Regions from separate parts of the Homo sapiens genome. Here regions 1, 2 and 4 are each linked to region 3. The links are contacts of gene promoters, found by promoter capture Hi-C in blood cells and fetal thymus (Javierre and others, 2016). All regions are on one chromosome and are shown on one strand. Each heading gives the region's core, a stretch centred on a gene start or on the middle of the fragment in contact. The rest is flanking DNA. Distances are from core to core; before and after follow the strand shown. Region 1 holds the start of HIKESHI (heat shock protein nuclear import factor hikeshi). Region 2 overlaps PICALM (phosphatidylinositol binding clathrin assembly protein). Region 3 holds the start of TAF1D (TATA-box binding protein associated factor, RNA polymerase I subunit D). Region 4 holds the start of EED (embryonic ectoderm development).

Evidence for each region. Contacts are between HindIII fragments. The CHiCAGO score rates a contact against its expected background, and 5 or more counts as called.
Region 1: a contact is called between the fragment with the promoter of HIKESHI here and the fragment with the promoter of TAF1D in region 3, in 2 of 17 cell types (non-activated CD4 T cells and naive CD8 T cells). The highest score is 7.5, in non-activated CD4 T cells.
Region 2: a fragment that was not itself captured here is called in contact with the fragment with the promoter of TAF1D in region 3 in 1 of 17 cell types (total CD4 T cells); the score reaches 5.1 in total CD4 T cells.
Region 4: a contact is called between the fragment with the promoter of EED here and the fragment with the promoter of TAF1D in region 3, in 1 of 17 cell types (neutrophils). The highest score is 7.6, in neutrophils.

Annotation. Positions count from the first base shown.
Region 1 is chr11:86,300,977-86,303,676 of GRCh38, forward strand. HIKESHI (heat shock protein nuclear import factor hikeshi) reads left to right here and starts at 1,264. Exons shown (of 5, transcript NM_016401.4): 1 at 1,264-1,502. The coding sequence starts at 1,473. The HindIII fragment of the contact is 4,753 bases long and covers 1-2,025 here.
Region 2 is chr11:86,065,536-86,068,235 of GRCh38, forward strand. The region is part of intron 1 of PICALM (phosphatidylinositol binding clathrin assembly protein); the gene reads right to left. Among named protein-coding and RNA genes, the nearest start is that of PICALM, 2.2 kb to the right of the region's middle. RefSeq lists an enhancer at 2,195-2,700. The HindIII fragment of the contact is 1,685 bases long and covers 513-2,197 here.
Region 3 is chr11:93,740,226-93,742,925 of GRCh38, forward strand. TAF1D (TATA-box binding protein associated factor, RNA polymerase I subunit D) reads right to left here and starts at 1,270. Exons shown (of 6, transcript NM_024116.4): 1 at 1,097-1,270. It overlaps C11orf54 (chromosome 11 open reading frame 54), which reads left to right and starts at 1,447. Exons shown (of 9, transcript NM_001286069.2): 1 at 1,447-1,503. RefSeq lists enhancers at 930-1,439, 1,568-2,253, 2,020-2,139, 2,660-2,700. The HindIII fragment of the contact is 24,379 bases long and covers 1-2,700 here.
Region 4 is chr11:86,243,444-86,246,143 of GRCh38, forward strand. It overlaps EED (embryonic ectoderm development), which reads left to right and starts at 1,310. Exons shown (of 12, transcript NM_003797.5): 1 at 1,310-1,900. The coding sequence starts at 1,787. RefSeq lists enhancers at 763-1,293, 1,294-1,822. The HindIII fragment of the contact is 4,943 bases long and covers 1-2,700 here.

The DNA of each region.
Region 1 (2,700 bases), core at 14-2,513, 7.4 Mb before region 3:
TCATTTTAAAGATGGGGAAAAGGAGGTATGGGAGTGTTAGGTTAACTTGCCTGAGATTATGTAACTAATAAATGGCAGAGATGGGCTCTGAACCCAGGTAGTGTGGGTGCCTTAATTTATGAAGTGGTCTTCATATGAATGGCCTTTTTATTCTGAAGGTTCTAGGACTTTTTAGATAGTAAGTTGGAAACATTGGTAGATCCTTTCCTACCTCTTCACCTTTGGCACAGCTATCTCAAAGGAGTATCGGTGATAAGATAGGTGATCAGTTTAGGGATCCACAGTGGAGGCCAGAGGACTGTTCCAAACACTGATCCCCCATATATAAACTGAGAACTGGGAAGACAGACCTGCTTTACGGCTGGTGGCCAAGCTCAGATATTTCAAATTGGACAGAGACCCTTTACTATCCTATTCAAGAAGAAAAGGAATTGGAGCTGTGAAAGGGAGAATAAGTATTGGTGGCAATCGGTACTTAATGCCAGTATTTTTTTTTTTTTTTTTGGCTATTGTTTTGTATTTCCTATGAAACTTTTCTGCAGATCCACATAGAAAAAAAATAGACATTTTTACAATAAAACTCCCACTAATTAAGCACAGCCAAGCACTGTTTTAAGTGTTTTATACATATTAGCTCATTTAATCCTCACAGCAACCCTAGGCAATAGGCTCATTATTTGTCTTTTGCAAAGGAGGGGCACTGAAGCACAAAGACATCTACAACTCGTCCACAATTGTACAGCAAATGAATGGGAGAACTAAGTGAAGCTGGAAAGAACTACTATAAATTGTAGACAAGTACAAAACAATTGGTTAAAGATTAATACTTCTGAGACACTGTGTAGCAGAAAGAAACCCGGATTTGGATTAGGACTTGAATTCAGCCTCCAACATTTACTGCTGTGTAAAGATTTGAGGCTGATCACTCCTATAAAATTTGGATTATAATACTTACCTCATAGGGTTTTTGTAAAGATCTAGTGACGTGATTATTGTAAAAGTGCACCGTTAATCTCTCAGATGTCACAGAAACGTTAGAAGCATCTCTTCCCAGGATTGTACATGGAAATGAAGGATCCACAGATTTTGTGGCTATAAAACACCCGGACTACCGATCCCAGTGTGCAAAGCCTCCAGGCTTACCTTCCCGGAAACTGGCGCGGTGCCCTCTGGGACTTGTTCTGGGACTTGTAGTCTTGTACTGGCGCTGGCCCGCCTTTCTTCCTTAGTGGGGAAAACCGGGTGTAAGCCCCGGAAGTACTTGTTGCCTGAGCAGTGGGCTGCTTAGGAAGAGAAGGTCAGAGTTCGCGGGGGCAGAGGCATTCTTGCCGCTGGCCCAGTCACTATGTAGTGGAGGGGCAGACACCCTCCCGCAAATTCTGGAAGGTTCTTAGTCTCGACTAGGGCAGTAGCCCCAGGACTCCTAGTCGCCGGCTTCAGGTCACTGCCGGCTGAACGGAGCTGCCGTCGCCATGTTTGGCTGCTTGGTGGCGGGGAGGCTGGTGAGGATGGGACCGGGTGATATCAGGAAGGGGTCAGGATACCGAGGGCGAAGCCCTACGGCAGGGAGGGTGCGCAGGCGCTAGGGATGCGGGGAAGCCCACTTATTATATTTTGGGTGGGTATGTGAGGATGGAGCGTGGGAAGCTGGGTGCTCTCCTTTGCCCAGCTCTATTCAGATTCTTTCGAATAGTAGTCACAGTATAAGTTGGCATTTATTAAGTGTGCATTTTGTACCAAGTACTGGGCTAAGTGCAATGCACGCCTTTGGTCACTCAGCCTTATGTGTGGCGCTTATTTGGCACTTTGAACTTAATCCTCATAACTCGTGAGATGGTCTTTATCTTTGACATTTTGCAGTTACAGAACTAAGTTCAATCGCCAGTATAAATACCTTCTTTATTAACTTGAGGTAGAGGTGAATTTGGGATTGAATTTGGTCTATAGCAAACTGTTTTTCAAAGATTAAGGTGCTCAGGGAATGTATATCTTTTGGGTCCCTTTGGAAGAACCCGAGTAAAAATAAGCTTAATTTAATTGGAAGTTGGCTGAAACTTAACGTGTGAGCCGTATCTGAGATAACCAGAGAAGGATGCGAGTAGTGTGTTTCCTTATGGGTCAAAATAGATAACTTACCTTGCCAAATTGTTAGAGTAAATGAGAACAGCACCTGGAATTCTTTAGGAATAATCTGGAAGGTGAATCTTGTTTGTTTCCTTAGAAACCACACAGACATCAATTTTCAGGCCTGATTCCTTTCCCCTAGAAGTATTTTTCCTTCTTTTTTCTCCTGGCTTTTTAAAATGTTGCAGTCCCTTTGCTGAATTGTCTTTTTTTCCCATCAAGTTTTGATAATGTATTGTATTCTGTACATATACAGTTCTAAGAAGCCAGAAAGATAAGTTGGAGATGACTAGCCTCATAAAGTTTGTCTCTTGAATGACTGGGAGACCCCTGTGGTGATGGTGGTAATTCATAATCCTGGTGAGATAATTTTGCCCTGCTCTTAATAGGGAAAAAGGACAAACCTGGAATGATTGTGTGACTCAGACGAGTGAGTGTTATTAATGAATGACATTAAAATTGTGTTTCTTAAAGAATAAAAAGCCTATTTGGAATCCATGTATCTCTCACGTTGTCAACTAATTTGGAAGGAAATTTAGTTATGGTAATACCTGCCTCTATATATTGGGGATACTT
Region 2 (2,700 bases), core at 105-2,604, 7.7 Mb before region 3:
GTATATGAATTGCCCCCACCTCCAGCTGTGAGACAGGATTAAATGAGATGATGAGAAAGTGCCTGGAAAACTGAAGTTCTTCAAATATAAGGGCTGCTATTCCTCTACCTTGATTATGGCTACTAAAGGCCTAAGATTAAACGGAAATCGTGTTTATTTTTACAAACATATTTCAAGTTTGACAACTCTTTCACACTAGGGATGCTAGTCAACACTATTATCCACTAACACCTACAGTATAAGCAAAGCAAAAAAATCTTTCTTCAGTAAGTATATAATGTAGTATGAATTAAGCCATAATTCATGAATTATTAATAATCACTTCCTAATGTGGAAAGATCTTGGCGAGAAACTGACAGAAACCACCTCCACACTCTAAGGGCTTATACGAAAAACAACAGTCCTAAGCATATTTTTTGTTAAATGCTGCCATTTTAAAATGAAATCATTTTCATTAGATTCATATAAATAAGCATCAGTTGCTAGGGGCATTAAAAGGTGCACATAAACTAAGCTTTCACTATAAAGAAAAATTCCTAAAAGACAAAAAATTACTTGAAATGACAGGTTTCTGTATTAAAGCCTAAAGTTCATGATGTCAACACCATGAACTGTCCGTAGAAGACTTTTTAATTTTCTCAAAGCATGTTAGTGTGTGCAAGGAAGGTATTTGTTTAGTAAACCACTCACTGGTCAGACTTTACCTAAGATAAAGGTATTTTATTAGTGAGAACTGATTACAGGACATTTTAATCAACAATGTAGGGAAAATAGTATCCCTGTATTTTAAAACCTCATTGAAAAGAAACAGAAGCACATTAACGACACATATATTTTTAAATCAAATACTACCAGGTATATTCAAGTTCCAAAAACGTGGGAGCTTGTAAACACAGAAGTGGTAGAGAAAAAGAACGACAAATGCAAGATTATCCTCCAAACCTAATCCCAGTTACCATCTATCTGCAGTAGTGGCTATAACAAGAGAAATAGCTAATAACATTTATGAAACAACATGCAAATAGCACTCTTCTAACCCTACCTATTTTCTCCTCTTTTTGACAATGCTTTAAAAGAACCACTGCTACATTTGAAATAAGACACAAACCTTTACAAAAAAAACTTTTAAAAGCCTTATCGATTCTTATTTTGAATGAGGAAAGAGGAAAATAGTTCACACAGTCACAACTAGTTTCTTCATACTCCCATACAAAAAAAAAAAACAAAAAAAAACCAAAAGCAACTAACAAAAGAATTAACACAGTGTCAGGACAAACTGTAAGATTTGGTAGGGCAAACCAAGTAGTATTTGAAGAGCCGTAAATAGCAGAAACGTCTACTACACGTATCAGATAATCAAAAAATCACATATGGCTTTACGATGCATTTTAAAAAGTTTTCTGTTCATAAGAGTGTCACCATTTAAACATATTCTCCATTCTCTAAGACAAGCAAGGACTGAGAGTTTAAAAGCAGCCTGCATGCATATCTGAAAGAATCAAGCACTAATGCTTTTTTATTTAAAACTTTTTTCCACAGTGGAGGAACAATCACAAAGAATAATAGGCTTCTGTGTAGCAAAAACTTGTTCTAACAGCATTCATGAGCACAGTAACTTGGAAGAATCTACATTTCGTACATTTTTTTTAAAGTGCAAACTTTACGGCCAAAGTCCAAATGAGAAATCAAAACAGGCTTCCAGACAGTGAATTATCTTTCAGGGCATGCTCACTCTTGCTTCAAACAGTAAAACAAAGTAACTTTCATGTATGATGAAAGTCAGTCAGACTAATGTGTCCAGTCATTTAAAAAGGGAACTTACTTATCGTGACTATTGCCCTATTTTTCCCTGAAAAGTTTCAGGTCTAAGCTCCATTGGCTTGAGTGATCCAATGAGCTTTGTACCCTGGGGTAAAAGAGCGCAAAGAAAAAGGAGGGTATTACAGGTGACTTCCAGGTTAGAAAAAAGTTACGAGGAGTTAGCTCTACTAATTGTATCTACGTTAGCGAATGGACGAATACTATGTCGTGTAAGAGAAGCTAAAGCTAGTTCCTCAAAAGGTAACTGGCATAATTAAAACATCCAAACTCAAGCATCATCAAACATCATTTTGCCAATTTTTTTAAGGGATGTATGTTATTTGTAAGTAAATTTATTAATCCATTTGGAATTCCAACAGTCTACGCTTAACACTCAAGCTTCTGAATTCAAGCCGCCAGAATTAACAGTTCCAGGAACTGATAAGAGTATCAGCAAAATGCCTTTTTCCATATCCCCATGTGAAAAGCTGGGGGGCAGAGCTGACAGTCACAAACTCACCCCAGTCAAAAGTATGGACAACACAACGATTAAATTCCACCAGAGGCAAATAAAAATCCCAACTTTCCAGAAAGCTTTCCCTACACCAAATTGAATCCTTTTACTTTCACTCCCACAAAGAAGGTAATCTGAAATAAAAGTCGGGTAACTGGGTATGGTATTTAAAATGAGTCGAAGAAACTACACTGAAGCTACTATAGAGGCGATGAAAAGGTAACCCAAAAGCAGGAGGGAAGGTGGAACAGAAAGCCAGGAAGGGATGGGCGAAGCAGCTAGTGGAGCAAAGGAAGTGGGGGATCCCTTCCAGGGAGGCAGCCCGGAGGGATAACAAGGATCTGGATGCAAGGAACCAGGCGTTTACTGAAACCCGAAGGAGGCTG
Region 3 (2,700 bases), core at 20-2,519:
AGGTGGAGCTTGTATGTAGTGAGCCTCAGCAACACAAGGAGACCCTTGTCTCTACAAAAAATTCTTAAAATACTGGCTAGGTGTGTTGGCCCGTGCCTTTGCTCCCAGCCACTCGGGAGGATCGCTTAAGCCGCGGTGGAGGTTGCTGTTAGCCGAGATTGCACCACTGCACTCCAGCCTGGACGACAGAGCAAGACCCTGTCTCAGGAAAAAAAAAAAAAAAAAAAAAAAAAAAAAAAAAGGCATGGCAACAAAAATTAAAGATAACTACTTATTTCATTATTGTACATGCCTTAGTCAATCTCTTGTCTCATTCTGTAGCTTCTTGGGACCTGACATGAGTCATTACATATAAATCCTAGGATGAACTAGCAAAATATTTAAAATATGAAACGATAAGGTCACCAAGAGCTCAGATTTGTTAAATGCCCCCTGTGGTATTTTCCTGGTACAAGGTCTTACTAGTTTTTTTAAGTACAAGATTCTACAAAGTCATTAAATATCGAATGCTCAAAAACGGAATTCAACAAAAATTTGCCCCCATGCTTTAACGGTATACCTGTAGTTAATTTTTTTTAAAAGTAGGGATTATCAAAATAAAGCTAGCTCAATAATCACTTTTTCGAAGTGTTTAGAAGACACTCCTACTTGGGTGTCGATGCCTCCGTGGGGATTCTGCAATTCTTAGAGGCCACGTGGGCAGAGAGCGGCGCTTTACCCGGAGCTAACGCTGTGACCACCAGCGCCTCTCACCCGGCAGCGCCTAACCTGCAGAAAACCGGCGCGAGTAATGGGTACCTCACATACGAAGGTTAAATCATTTAAATCACGTAATAAGGTTAAACTTGTCCGCAACACGATTTAACACCTCCATCTCAAGATATAATGAAGCCCGTCCACACTACAACCACGTTTGTGTGGGACTCATACCAGCCGCGTGGCGCGGAGTGGCCTGCGGCCGTGATCCCTTCACCCTCTCGGACCGACTTCGGAGTCTCGATCCTCCGGACCAACGAAGGGGCCCCGGGAAACCCCAGATATGCAACGCCTCCCCCGCCCGCCAGGCCCGGACGGCCTCGCCCTCTTAGCAACCTACCTAAAACGGCCTCGCAGTGGCCCCAACCGCGCACTTGCTGCTTGTAACCCAGGCCTCGGCCCAAAACCCGCGACTGGCCTGGTGTCCTAGAGCTCTGTACACACCACCCTCCCGACCTCAGCCCTCCAACTCCCGATAACCAGCCGACCTCCTCCAACCGTGCGGAAGAAAAGGGTTGGCTATTTCCGTGGCCCAAGTAATAGTCAGGCCGAAATCTCGCGATACAACTTAGCTTCCGGGAAGAAGGCGAGCGGTGGGAGGAGACGCGACGTGGGGGCGCCATTTTTCTCGCCGCGCAGGGAGGACTGACTAACGTGGGCGGAGCTCTAGCTCGCGTATTCTGAGGAGGCGGGGTTGGCCTAGGCGAAGATCCGGACTCTGGGTGTTTTGCTACCGTGACCGTTTAGGTGAGTGGAATAGCCAAGAACATTTCGGCAAATAACAAAAACAAAACGTGCGGTCACTTGTGAGTGGATGAGAACTGTGAGGAAACAGCCTCTCAGCCCGGTTCGTTTCCGGTGGTCTCGCGTTTGCTGAGCTGTCGCCTGGCTTTCTAAATCTGGTCCCGGGTGTGTGGCGAGGGTGACGGGTGGGATGTGTGCCTGAGTGTTTTGTAATCCTTTGTCTATTTCTGCCTTCAGAAACCCTTGTGTGTTAAAATATTGGAGAAGGCTCATTCTTTGACCATGACTCGAAGTGTGTAACCTTTGTGCTGGACGCCAGTGTTATTCCATAGCACGCCCAGGTCTCCTCCCCACTTTTGCACCTGTTTCGTAAGCTCACCCTTTCTGCCTCCCAGGAGTTGGCTAACATGTCACAAGTGAGACCTGTGGAGGATTTGTTTTTCCTAAGTTTCCTCCTACATCCCCCCTGCCCCACACCATTAGTTCCTTGACCGGTTCCTGAGTTAAGATTAAACAGTGTAAACTAGTTTAGTTTTGGTGGGGTTTTTTTCTCCCAAAGTAATTTTTTTTTTTTTGAGACCGAGTTTCGCTCTTGTTGCCCAGGCTGGAGTGCAACGGTGCGATCTTGGCTCACCGCAACATCTGCTTCCCGGGTTCAAGCGATTCTCCTGCCTCAGTCTCCCCAGTAGCTGAGATTACAGGCGTGCGCCACCATGCCCAGCTAATTTTTGCATTTTTAGTAGAGGCGGGGGTTTCTCCATGTTGGTCAGGCTGGTCTCAAACTCCCGACCTCAGGTGATCCTCCCGCCTCGGCCTCCCAAAGTAATTTTAAAAAGGAATGAACTGGTTTGATTTTTCCGCTTTCAAAATTCTGTTTTCATATGATAAACCACAAAAATCAGTAAAGCTGTCTAGTCTTATTTTATAGTTCACATTTTAGGATTGAACGGGCCTTAAAAGTAATCTGGTCTCTTTACCTGCTTTGCTCCATAGTTTGGACAATTCCGGGGATAAAAAGTCCGATCCTTTAGGCAGCCCACTGCATTTGATCCACAGGGTCTGGGCAATGACGAAGCTCCAGGACTGGTATGGCATGTCCCTCACTGCCGTATTCAGCAGCAAGCCTAGCTGTGTAATTTGTGAGGCTCAATGCAAAATGAAAATGCAGCGTCCCTTGTTCAAAAAGAAGGGGAAAAGTGC
Region 4 (2,700 bases), core at 60-2,559, 7.5 Mb before region 3:
TGGAACATTGGAAGTACTGAACAAATGACTGCCGTCATTGAGACCTCAACTTTAATTTTTTTTCGGCTTCTTTATTTCAAAGTCTTCACTGCAGAAACCTCTCATTCTGACCTGCCTTTGCTTTACTTCCTTTTCTCATTCTCAACCAAGAGTTCTCTCTTTATCTACAAAAGAAAGAGTGACTTGCAATCTGCAGATAAGGAAACTGATGTCCTGGTTATAAAGTTATCATGCAGAAATAATTCAAGTATACTAGAATTTTATGGATGGTGCACTCTAGGTGGGTAATGAGGTCTAGAAGAGAAAAGATATACAACATCAAGCAGGTGCCCAAGAAATGGTAGGTCCCTTTCTCCCTTCCTGCCTCCTCATTTTTACAGATGAGGACATTTTTACAGAAGCCCGAATAGATAAGTAGTCACAATCATGTTCTAAGAAAAACAAAAAAAAGGTGGCGGATGCCGTATTTTATTTTTCGTCATCACTCTCCTTTTCCTGCTGCTCATTCAGTTATGGTTTCATGACCCATATAATAATTCCACAAGGCTCACCAATGTTATCTGGCACCTGCTAGAGAATAGATATAGTAACAGAGGCAAATATTTTGGTGAAGTTTAACAGTTGTGTTGCCTTCTAGAATTTCATTGTATCTGATGTGCAAAAACAAGCAAAACATTGTCGGTTAAGTATCACAATCTCATAATGGAGATGAGCACTGATTCTTAGGCCTTGGCGTAGTTCAGGGCCTATCCTTTAGCAGCTAAAAAGAGCACTTTGGCTGTAACTCATTGGAGTCTAGTCTCATAATGTTAGGATATTTCTATTTAAGTCTTAACCACTATTGGTAGCAACTGGAAGGATAATCATTCATTACAATAAATAGTCAACAGAATAAATATCCGACAAGAATTTACGAAGCGTCTAGAGTATAATTCGGTAGCGCTTTGAAATCCACCCTGGGATTCGGAAACCGGGTAGAAAACTACCTGGTTCAGCAAACGAGAATTCAAACAGAGGAGGGGCTTGGAGGAGGCGGGTTTCGACGAACCCAGCGCAAGAGTACGCCACGGCGCCTGCGCATCCCCTGACGGGTACTTTCCATTCGCCAGATGGGGGAAGCCAGGGGGAAGCAGGTTACTGTTTTTGCATTTCTATCTTCAAGGAAGAATTAGGTTATGAATAGTTCCGTGAATAGTCAGGAAGCGCTGTCCTCCAAGTTCAAGATTAAGGAAACGTGGCATGCACAGCTAAAGCAAGAGGTGACGTCTTGTATCTTCCCCCGTTTCCTGGGACATTGGTGGTGTAGCCCATTCCACAGACTTTCGCTCCCTAGCAGCGGGTCGGAGATCGAAGGAACGGGCCAATTGCGGCTGAAACGTCTTTGGAAGGAGGAAGGGGGTGAGGGAGCATCCCTTTGAGTTTCGCCTCTTCTCGAGGCGGTGGTGGGAAGGGAGACATACTTAATACTGCCCTCTTAATCCAACGGACCTTACATCGTGTAGACTGCCGGGAGGGCGGCGGGAAAAGGGCAAGACGGGAGTTGGGGAAGGGAAGGAGCCAGGAAGCCGCGCGGGAGGGCGCGCGCGCGCGCCCCTTTTTCAGCAGTGTGGCGGGGTCGCACGCACGCCCGCCTCGGCGGCTGGGCGCGATTTGCGACAGTGGGGGGGGCGGTGGAGGTGGCGGCGGCAGCGGCAACTTTGCGGCAAGCTCGGGCCGGGCTTGCTTGACGGCGGTGTGGCGGAGGCCCCGCCCCAGGCGGCAGGAACCTGGAGGGAGGCGGAGGAATATGTCCGAGAGGGAAGTGTCGACTGCGCCGGCGGGAACAGACATGCCTGCGGCCAAGAAGCAGAAGCTGAGCAGTGACGAGAACAGCAATCCAGACCTCTCTGGAGACGAGAATGTAAGTGCAGCTTCTGGCAGTTACGAGACTGCGGAGTGAAAGTTTTAAATTCTTTTAAAACGGGGGGCGCGGGGACGAGCGGGCTGCTGTGGGGGGAGGGAGAGGTGTCACTCAGGAAAACGCGGGCGTGCGGGAGAAAATTGAAATTGCCTACGGGGATTTTGATGTGGGGCCGAGAGCAAGCAGGAACTAGGCAAAGGAGAGTGGTTCTAGTGATTGCGTGGGTCTGAGAAGTCTGCCCTGAAATCAGTTTGCATGTGATGGGGAGTGTTTTGGCCTTTGGGGGGATTTAAGGGGAGAGTGCGGGTCTGAGATTCTAGTAGTTTAAAAGGCACGTTAGAGACTTTTCTAAGAAAGTTGGAAGGACGGGGCAGAGTTAGGGACCCTGTTAAAGGAGCGTAAGGGTTGTCACTCTAAGACCCTTGTGGAATTTTCAGGATGGAAAGTGATCTTCGATTTGCGGAGTTTGGGAGACTTTATTAAAGGGGGTTTTGTGTCCGCCTCCGTCCTGTCCGCGGAGACCGGGTGCGCCTGAAGGTCGCCTTTTCTGTAGGAGGAGCCGAATTGAGAGGATCGATTTTTGATTTGGGGGTGGGGAGTGACTACCTTTGAGGAAGTAAGAGTGGGTGATTTCTTCTTTGAACGTTTTTACTTAAGATAAAGGTGAGGGGGGTGGCGACCTGGAAGATTTTGGGCAACAGTGGTATAGGCAGATGTATTTAAGTGTGGGTTCCTGGCTTCGCCAAGTGCGCGATGTTTTGCAATCAGATTTTTTTAAGCTCTGAAATGGGTATTCGTAA